Linked DNA regions of Homo sapiens: region 1 is linked to region 2. Evidence: promoter capture Hi-C in human tissues and cell types (Jung and others, 2019). All regions are on one chromosome and are shown on one strand. Each heading gives the region's core, a stretch centred on a gene start or on the middle of the fragment in contact. The rest is flanking DNA. Distances are from core to core; before and after follow the strand shown. Region 1 holds the start of LOC124902669 (translation initiation factor IF-2-like). Region 2 holds the start of MAPK8IP1 (mitogen-activated protein kinase 8 interacting protein 1).

The links. Contacts are between HindIII fragments. The study calls those that stand out against the background at their distance.
Region 1: a contact is called between a fragment that was not itself captured here and the fragment with the promoter of MAPK8IP1 in region 2, in 1 of the 25 tissues and cell types used here (IMR-90 fibroblasts).

The regions. Positions count from the first base shown.
Region 1 is chr11:46,235,991-46,240,997 of GRCh38, reverse strand. It overlaps LOC124902669 (translation initiation factor IF-2-like), which reads right to left and starts at 3,609. Exons shown (of 1, transcript XM_047427965.1): 1 at 1,269-3,609. The coding sequence starts at 3,159. The coding sequence ends at 2,449. RefSeq lists silencers at 1,594-1,803, 2,630-2,949, 3,060-3,109 and an enhancer at 3,695-3,744. The HindIII fragment of the contact is 4,501 bases long and covers 1,006-5,007 here.
Region 2 is chr11:45,882,893-45,888,125 of GRCh38, reverse strand. MAPK8IP1 (mitogen-activated protein kinase 8 interacting protein 1) reads right to left here and starts at 2,475. Exons shown (of 12, transcript NM_005456.4): 1 at 2,205-2,475. The coding sequence starts at 2,305. It overlaps CRY2 (cryptochrome circadian regulator 2), which reads right to left. Exons shown (of 12, transcript NM_021117.5): 12 at 4,882-5,233. RefSeq lists a silencer at 2,214-2,613. The HindIII fragment of the contact is 16,221 bases long and covers 1-5,233 here.

The DNA of each region.
Region 1 (5,007 bases), core at 2,007-4,506, 350 kb before region 2:
GGTGGCTGATGCCTGTAATCCCAGCACTTTGGGAAGCTGACGTGGGCGGATCACCTGAGGTCAGGAGTTCGAGACCAGACTGGCCAACATGGTGAAACCCCATCTTTTCTAGAAATACAAAAATTAGCCGGGTGTGGTGGCAGGTGCCTGTAATCCCACCTATTCGAGAGGCTGAGGCAGGAGAATCACTTGAACCCAGGAGGCAGAGGTTGCAGTGAGTTAAGATTGTGCCATTACACTCCAGCCTGGGCTACAAGAGTGAGACTCCGTCTCAAAAAATAAATAATAATAATAATAATAAATAAAACCATAAGCAACGTGGTAGCCCAGATGGTCAGATGATGCAAGCATGTACTAAAAGGGTGATTTGTTTTACACATTCATTGGGCACTCACAGATTCTAGACACTATACCAAGCCCAGACCCAGACAAAGCTTCTGCCCTAAGGGCTTATGATCTAAATTCCTTGTGGAAAGTCTGTTTTTGAAATGTTTAAGGCATCTCATTTAATCCTCATTTCCATTTCAAGTCATGTACCTCCTTCCTGAGAAACCCACCACATTTTAAGTTTGTAGCTGGCTTTCCTTCTGTTTTTGCTATTTATGTGCCAATTTAAAGGGTGGGGAGAGCCACATTAATTTTAAAATAAAACACAAATAGCAAAATGAGGCTTGGTTAAAGGAAAAACCACAAAAGGGATTTTTTTTTTCTTTCTCCCATACTTTTCAGATTTTCCTAGAACCACCTTTATTTTCTCAGAGCCCAGACATAGAAAGTGAGTGGGCCTCTCCGGATGCTCTTCCAAGCTAAAGCCAAAAGCCTCATTCTTATTCTCTCCTTGCACCTTTAGGTTTTGTTTTTCTGTTCAACATCTGAGTCCCACATTGGGGACTCAAGCTGGTCAAGCCTCCCATGACATGTGGTATTTCTATGCACTCTCAGCGTAGATTTTGATTTGTTTTTCATGATTTGCATCTTACCTCTTCTGTTCAGTTGTTTCAGCGTGTACATTCTGGGTGATGAGAACATAGCTTTAAAGTCAGACACTCCTGGGAAGAATCCCAGCTTTGCCACTTACCAGCCTTGTGACCTCATCCATCAAACAGCAATCATCATCCACACCTCTTAGGGCTGTAGTGAGGATTAATGAGTCAAAGCACATAAAGGGCTCAGCGCAAAAGAAGCACTCTGTACTCGGTAGCTATTATGAAAATAGATCCTTTCATCTGTGTGCGCCTACTTAACCAACCCTCCCCATACCCACCGTATTTTGGAGAAGAGAAAAATTAGTCATTTATTCCAAGTAGATGATGTATCCCTATTTTAAATCACCAGAGGGCGAGAAGGGGAAGCAAGGCTGAATTTGACTTGCAGACATCTAGGCCTTTTAATGGGATGGGAATCAGTGTCCGCGCCTCTCAGCAGATGACAAAACCCGCTGTGCAGGGACTGGGGAAGTCTTGAAGGCCAGTGGTGGGATGGCAGGAGCACAGAAGATGGGGAAAAGTGGTCAGGGAAAGCAGGTCCAGGGCTGAAATGGTGGGCCTGAGGGATGGCAGCCACCAGGAAGGGAAGCTTCTTGCTTCGGGGTTCTGAGTCCAGGCGTCTGCAGGCCGACGTCAGCCTGCCCCGAGGTCCCAGTGACAGTGAGATCCAAGGCGTGTGCGGCAGCGCCCTCTGCCGGCCGCGCGGGGCAGGCGCCCAGCCCAGAGCCCGGCCCCGCAGTTCTGCAATGGGGACTCCAGTTCCCTCCGGCTGCCTCCGCCCCCGCTCCATCCCGACTGAGGACCGCGGACCCGTCCCGGAGTAGATTCCCGGAGACGCCTCCCTATCCTACGCCTGCGGGCTGAGCGGGGACGATGCTCAGACACACCCAATTCACCAGCGGATCGGAGGCCGCAGGAACCCATCCAAACCCCGCAGGGGCTGCGCCTCTGGGACCCAGGGCCAGACCCTGCTGGGCTGTCGGAAGTGGCATCGCCTATGGCCAAGACCGCGGGTTCTGCGTACAGAAAGGAGCCCTGGGTTCGCTTTCTGTCTCGTCCATTTTCCAGCTAGGTGACCTTGGGCAAGGTATTATACTTAAATTTCCATGTGCCTTAGTTGCCTCATCTTTAAGATGGACAGAAGGATCCCGTCCTTAGTGGGTTGACATGAGGATGGCATGGGGTCCGACAGCCGCGGTTGGAATTCTGGCACTGACATCAGCTAGCTGTGTGCCCTGGGGCAAGTTACTTAACCTCTCTGTGCCCGGGTTTCCTGCAAAATAGGGATGATAATGGTACTTACCTCCGAGGGTTGTTGCCTGCAAAGCGCTTAACACAGCACCTGGCACAGAGTAAGCGCTCAATAAATGGTGGCTACTATGGCTGTGGTCGTTATTATTGTTCCTAAAGGCGCTGAGCACACGAGTGGAGCTCTAGCTGGCAGCTATTATTAGTCTGTTTCTTAGGTCCAGCTATTTCTTTCCGGGCATTGTTCAAATCTTTTACCAAGAGCTCGCGTCCTTATCAGTAACCGAAGGACAGCCGGCCTTCCAGAGTTTGGAATGAACGAGGTTCCCCCGGAGGAGGGCCAAGGACGCGGCCGCGGGCTGCCGGGACCGGGACCTCCCGGAGGAAGCCCGCGCCGCGCCGCCTCCGCCCGGGCCTCCAAGAGCGCGTCAGAGCCGCAGTGACGTCGCCGGGCCTGCACGTGCGGGGAGCCTGGAGGGGGCCGGGAGGGCAGGAGGTCGGGCCGCTGGCAAGAGGCGCCTCGGGCCGCGCTGGGACCCTGCCCTCCGAGGCGGCCAGAAAAGCTGCGGGAAGGCCCGGCCTGGGTCCGCTGTTCCGCGCCTGCTCGCGCGGGGTGCGCTCGGGGCGCCGCCTGCCTGCAGCCCCGCGGGGAGGCCGGAGATGCCGACGCCCGCTCCGGGCCCCGGGGCCCGCTCAACCTGGCCGGGGGAGCTGAATTCCCGGCAGCCATGCGGCGTCGGCGCGGTCCTTTGCGCCCAGTCCCACCCGCCCGGATCCCACTCGTCGCCGTCCCCCAGCGACTCCCTCCGTTTCTTCCCCCTCTGTCCTCCGTCCGGACCAGCTCGTTTGCTGTCAGCGGTGGAGAGCCACTCTCAAGAGGCACCTCCCACCTCCGGCTCCCCGCCTGCAGCCCGGGCGCGCCCATCCTATCGCCCTCCCGACAGCTCCACGCGGTTGGCCCCGCGCGCACCGCCACTCGCCGCGTGTTGACCCGATTATTGTCTATCGCAGAGATGGCGCGACCGCCCAGCCCCTCGTCCCGATGCCTCGCCTTCCCTCCTGAACACTTCTCCAGGCACTCTGCACTCCATCCTCATTCCCACTTCATCCAGACCTCCCCGGCGCCCCGCCCCCCTTGGCTGTTGACACATTCCCCTCAAAGGTCTCCCCTGCATGCCTGTCTTCTTCAAATCCATCCTCCTCGCTCTGCCAGAACAGCCACCTGCAACCCCTGTTTTGCCATGCCTCTCGGCTTGGGGCCGCCCGGTCTTCATGGATGCCCTAGTCTGCCATTTTCTACACCACGCCTCCCGAGCTAGGCTCGGAGGCTGGAGCCCGCTGGGGCCACACTCTTGAAGGTCCTCAGGTCTTTGCTGCAGTTAGGCCCTATCCAGAGAATTTTCCCCTTCCTCCCTTCTCCCCCTCCCCCTACCGGCTTCCTCTTACTCATCCTCCAGAACTCAAGATGTGAGTCACCTTTTCAAGAACGCCCTCCCTGTTCCGCTATCTGGCCGAGTGAAGTGTCCCTGGGCCGCCTGCTGATTTTGTCATATTTAGGGGAGAGGCTTGAGCCTTCAGGATGGCCTGTGGGGTCCTGCATGGTCTGTGCACACCCCCTTCGCCTCCCCTCCCCTCAACATCAGCTCCTTTCTTCCCCTGCTCTGGCCACACAGGGGGTCTCAGTCCCTGGCCCCTACCTCACCTTCCCAGTCCAGCCTCTTAGCGCAGGCTTCTCTGCCTGAAACACCTTGCCGCCCTTCCTCTTCTACTCAATTTTCAGCTGTCATCTTAAGTAAGACTCAATTCGTCTGAGAAGCCTTCCCTGACCCACCCACCCCCAACTCAGTGGAATTCGCCTTTAATAGGTCAAAGTGCAATTCAAAAAAATTTAAAGCATACCAAAAAACTATAGCGAATAATATAATTAATCACTATTCTGTGTGCCTTCCCCTCCCCTAGCCACGTCTTTGTCAAAGCTTAACATTTGCTCTATTTTCTTCAGATCTTTTTTAAAGGACATAAAACCTCACAGATCTAGTCTTCTGAACTCATTTCTGTCCCTCCCCTATGGTAATCACTTTCTGCCTTTGAGTTTTACCATTCCTATGCATACTTTTGTATTTTTGCTACATATATTTGTGCCTGTAAGCACTTTACAGAATTGTTTGGTATGTTTTTAAACTCTGAAGAAATACCATTATACTGGGTATATAATTGTGCAACTTGCTTTTTTCACCCAGCAGGATAATCTTGAAATGTGTTCACATGGATACACGTAGTTCTAGATTATGCAATTTTCACTTCCTATTTGGGTCCCATTATATGAGTTCACCATACTTTATTTACCAATGTCCTTCTGAAGGACATTCAACTTATTTTTAATTTTTTTTCTGTTAGAAACAATATTGTGATTAGTATTTTTTATACCCATCCCCTTGTGTGAAAGTAAGTCTTCCAGTAGCCACTTGGGTGCAGAATTGCTGGATTCAAGGCAGAGGAACTGGCAGCTTTACTCAGCATGACTAAAAGTTTTTTCAAAGTGGTTGTACCATTCACAGTCTGATAGCAATATATGGAAGTTCCCATGCTTGGCATCCTCAACAACATTTGGTATTGTCAGACTTCAAAATTTTTGCCAAGCTGATGGGTGTGAAATGGCCTTTCAGTGTTTTAATTTGCAATTCCCTGTTAACAGGTGAGACTGAGCACACTTTCATTTGTTTGTTGGCCATTTCCTCATTTTTAAGTTGCTCATTGGTTTATTTGACAGTGC
Region 2 (5,233 bases), core at 1,226-3,725:
CTTGAAACACTCAACACGTGTTATCTCATCTGATTCTTAGGACCATCCTGAGCAGGGGCCAGTGCTGGCATCTCAGAGGCTCAGAGGGCTTAAGTGCCCAGTGTCAGGGCACACAGGTAAGAAGGGCCAGCCAGGATTCAAACCCAGGCCAGTTGGATCTATGACTCCACCAAAGAGCCACAAGAAAGCACTATCTACCCACCCAGGGTTAAGTGGAGCCTGGCCAAGCACAGTGAGAGGCGGGCCAGGAGAAAGGGCAGCGGGGGCTTTGGGAGCAGCGGGGCAGGCCGGCAGGGCCTGAGACACTGACGCTTATTATTCCCACGCACTGGCCTTGTCTCCGCAGCCAGGCCACCATGTTCTGGAGTGCTGGCCCACACCTCAGCCTCGTGGCCTACTGCCACCCTTGTCCCACATGCCGCAGAGCTGGCCACACATTCACTGGCTGGTGTCTGCTTCCTCAGCTCCTCTCATTAAAGCATCTATGACACCTGGGGAAGCAGGTCGAGGAAGAAAAGCTGCCCACTGGGCCAGAGGCAGGGCTGGGACGTAGAGTGGACTAAACACGCACAGACCTGGGTCCCAGTGTAGCCTTAGTCTCTGACTCTTTTGTAGTCTCCAGATGAGCCACCCTGCCTTTGTTAATCTCAATCACCTCATCTATAAAATGGGCAGGTCACTACCCTCTCTTGGGGCAGTTATGAGGGTTAAAGGAGGGGCCTTGGGAAGACACTCTGGACAGCAGCGAGCCGTAGTGTTGTCTGCTAGTGTGGGGGCTGACACTTGTTGAACACTGACCTGATGTGCTTTTTCTCCTTTCCAGGCAAGAATCAATATTAATTAGCCCACTTAACAGATGGCACCCAGAGAGGACAAAAACCTGCCTGGGTCATGCAGTTAGAAAGTAGTGGAGCTAGGATTTGAACCCAGGTCCCTCTAAGCCCCATGTGCTTCCACTGCAGAGGCCTCCAGGTGGGGAGGCAGTATTTGCATGGAGGCCTCATGCACCATGCCAGGTGGAGTCTCAGACCTCAGTCTAAGGCATTATCAGAGAGCTGCAGCCCTGGAGCCTTCAGGCCTGGCCTCCTCCATCTGGCCCCCTCTGGTCCTTCCAGCTCAGCTCAGGGCCTCAGGGAAGGTTTCTGAGTTTGATGATGCTATTAGAGATCCCCAGGGGTCTCTGCCCACCTGAGGACCTGGGAGCCAGTGACCCCTTGCTCCCAGGAGGGGCTGGCACCACAGCCCAGCTGGAGCCTGGCTGGGGTGGTGCCCCAGGAGAGGGGAAGGCGCCAGTTCTCGAGATGGGGAAACAATGGGGTATGTCTAAGCCTCCCTCTCTAGGCCGGGAGCAGTGACTTCGGCCTCTTCCTCCCCACCAACTAGGGTTCAGAATTATGGGGGAGGTACATCTATTCCTCCTCCACACAACACTCACCCCTCACTTCTCTGAAATGCATCGGGCCTAACACCAGATTGGGGGGTGGGGGTGGTGGAATAGGAGCTCAGGTCAGGGTTCTGGGTATTTACCCCAGCAGGGATCCCCTCGACACCCTCGCTGGCCCTGGCTACTCCAGAGCCGAGCCGACTTCCCTTCCCGCAGCCGGGCCTAGGATTCCCCTGGTTGAGGCTGAGCCTTCAGCGCCTGCCCTGAGAGACACACCTGCCTAGGTCGGTGCTGCCCAATCCAGAGAGGGGCCCGGCCACGCCAGGCCTGGCAGGTAGGCCCATCTGGCCAGGCAGGGCTCGGGGAGGGGCTCAAACATCCTCCTCCCAGCACCAACAATGTCGTTGCCCCAGGAAACTGCGACCCGCGCCCCTCCAGGCTGTTCCCAGCTCTATTCACAGGCTAAGATGCAGCCTGCCTGCCCGCTCCGGGATCGCAACCCCGACCCCAGACCCTGCCGCAGCCCGGAGGTTGGGGAGAAGGAGGCCTCCGAGCCCCCTCCTCCAATTCCAGCGCAGACCTCCCAGCCTAGGACCAGGAATGGCGGAGGGAACAGCCTCGTGAACATGCAACGGCTACCAGTCCGGACTTGAGGCTGGCGGGGCTTCTGAGGGGGGCTCTGTCCCGGGAAGAGACCCCACTCCCACGCAGCCCTTTCGTTCCCGGGTTCCCGAGGTTCTGGGGTGGGGGGCGGGCAGGGCAGCCAATGCGGATCAGTCCCCGCTGAAGGGCGAGGCGCGCGGCGGCCGGGGACTCTCACCTGAAATTGGGAGGCGAAGCGATGTGCAGCCCCAGGAACGGGGAGGCGGCGGGCGGGGACGCGGCCCCCCCTCCCAGGCCGCCGCTTTCTCGCTCCGCCATTCTCGGGCACAGCCCTGGCCATCCGGGCGGAGCGCGGCGCGGAGGAGGCGGCGGCTGCGAAGGAGGCGGAGGCGCGGCGAGAGGGCAGCCGCCGCCGCGGAGTTCGGGCTAGGCGGGCGCACCTGTGTCTGGCAGGGCGCGGCACAGCACCGCGCACGGCCCGCGGGACTGGCGAGAGCGCCCCGCGCGCGCCCCCGGGACCCGGCCGGGGTCTCGCGCGCCCCGCCCAGGCCCCGCCCCCACCCCGCCAGCCCCGCCCCCGGAGATGGCGCTCTCCGCGGTGCTGAAGCCACGGCCCCCGCGGCCCTGGGCTTGGTTCAGCCCCGCCCTAAATCCGACATCGACTCTCCTCCACCCCGTGGCCGGTGTGGGCTTTGTCCCTCCGGTTGGGCTTAGTGCCCGGGTATCAGATGACTAATGGCAGGACACTGGACCCCAAGGTCCAGGTTGGCCCCCCGCAGCAGAGACCAAGAAGGCAGGCGGAAAAGGAGGGTCGTGGAGGAAGGCAGAGAAAGGAGAGGATGTCAGTGGGCTCTTAAAGTGTACAGGTTTGGAGTCAGGTGGTGTGAATTCACTGGCTCCACAAGTGACTGGGCAGTGGGGCCTTGCATTAGTGACTTCAGAGCACTAAGGTTTGGTCTTCTTATCTGTGAAATGGGACAATAGCAGTCCCTCTCATGGTTGTTGTGAGAATGTAACGTAACACAAATGTGTTGCCTGAGACCCAGAAACACTCCACCTCCTGCGCTGGGATCCAGCCCTCACCCCAGTCCTGTCCCTTTACCTTGAGGGGACCCTCCCAAAGACTCTCCCTAGAGGCTGTCTTCTCTAAAGATTGACCCAAATCTCTCTTCAGCCCCAAACAGCTACTCGTGGTGAATTGAGCCCTCCAGGCTTCTCGGTCTCTCGCCAGGACCTTCCCAGCATTCTCCTTCTTAGCGCCTCAACTGCATTTCCTGCAGAGCACCCCTCTTCTGCACCCACAGACACACATTCTAAGACTTGGCGCCTTTCCCTCTCCTCCCACTGTTGACTTCTTGGGATCATTTTGGTTGTTTCTGTTCCCTCTGGCACCTCCATCCCTGCTAGGCTTTGGCCATGGCTTCTTCCTCATTGTCTCTCCCTCGAGAGGGTGTTATTCCTGGGCTTCCAGGCCTTCAAGTCCCTGAGTTTCCCGATTGAGTTATTTCAGAGTACGGACTGCCAAGGCTAGGGCCTTAGCTTTGCTGGGTCGTAGAGCCTCTGGTCAAACCTCATTGGCTTCTCTGGTCTCTCGAGAGAACCCTAGAGACCCTGTCCACAGGGCAGAAAACGTGCAGAGCAAACTGTGCCACAACTCGTGGAGTCCTATTTGCAAATCTGGACTGCCGACCAGTCATGCTGGCCCCTTTCCTTCAGTGCGGCACCTAGCAAGGAGCTGGAGGCACCTTCCGTGCAGAAGGCAACCTCCGACCACCAGCCCTGAGAATATCCCAATACCTAGAGCCAAAGGTCATGGCTGCTTCTCTTTTCCCTGTCCCTGGGGCCCAGAGGGGTGGCCACTACTTTCTCAGCTTTCGTGATCAGGCCCCTTTCACTGGGCCCTCACGGTAATCATCTGCTGCCATGGTGCCTGGCTTTTCCTCTCAGGAAAGCAGTCTTGCCATCATGGCTACTAATCGTTCCTTAGAATGTAGACCTGCCTCAGCTAGGGAACATCCTTAGCAGGTCAGGGGTGGATGTAAAGGACAACTCCCTCTTCCAGAACCTTTTGCTCAAGAGCAAAGTTATCTTAGCTCCAAAGACCAACCCAAAGCCATTATTAGAGAGAAGCCAGAAGGGCAAGAAGGAAAGGCAGGCCCAGGTCTTGGTATGAGGGAGGCCAGCAGGAGCTTCAGAGCAGAGCCAAGAATGAGACAAGTTCCCAAGGCAGGTTCCTCCCCTTTTCTCCTTCTTCACTCTGTGCAGGCCAGACTGTGATATTCTTGGGCCTTGCCTGGGCCCCTTCCCAGAAAGTTGGGGTGTGAGCTAATAAAGCTTTCAGTCCAAGGCTAGCATCCCCTAGCATGGAAGCAGGGCACACTGCACAGAGAGGGGCCATTCTCTGGCCAGGAGACAAAGCCAGCATCCAGGCGCCCTAGGCTTGGCTGTGGGCAGATCTCAACCACCTAGTCACAGCCAGAGAGCCTGCATCCCCTCCTCACCACAGGCTGCAGCTTAAGTGGCTGCATTGAATTAAAGGATGGATTGAGGGCGTGGAGCAGGCCCTGCACTGACTGACCCCCAGCCTGGGAGGGGGTTTAAGTGGGCTGCAAGGCTGGGTGGCACTGCAGGATGGCACTTAGGACCCTCACTCTGGGCCAGAGTGCTCTGTACTATTTTGGCCAATTGACCCCCAACTCTTGACCAAGCTCTGGACCAACTCTTGACCAAGCTGCTCCAGTCTGCTCTGGCTGCTCCCCCTTCCTAAGGAGGAATAGGAGGCTCCTGACTCCCACAGAACCAAGATGGGGTGGCCGACAGCTTCATTCAGGCTCAGGCTTACCAAAACCCTGGTTCCCAGGCCTCCCACAAGATTGACGACAGCACAAACTTACTCAAGACAGGTCAGACATTTATAAAACAAGTGAATATTCACAAACAAATTGTGGGAGAAACACACCTTCCCAGCAATAGAAAATCTCTATAAAGTGCATTTTGCCTGCAACCATCTCTTCCCCATGCTGGCCCTTGGGTCAGGATTTGAGGCACTGTTCCGAGGGAGCCCTCAGGGCCACCTGAGCTGGGAGAAGGGAGGCATGAAGCCACCATGGAGCTCCAGGCTACTGGACATACCCTCTCTACCCTGCCCTTCCCTCTTGGCTCCAGGAGTGCACTGCCTGACTCCACTGGCAGGTTGATCTGGGAACGGGCTGACATGCTAGGGATGGTGGAGAAGTAGGCGGAGGT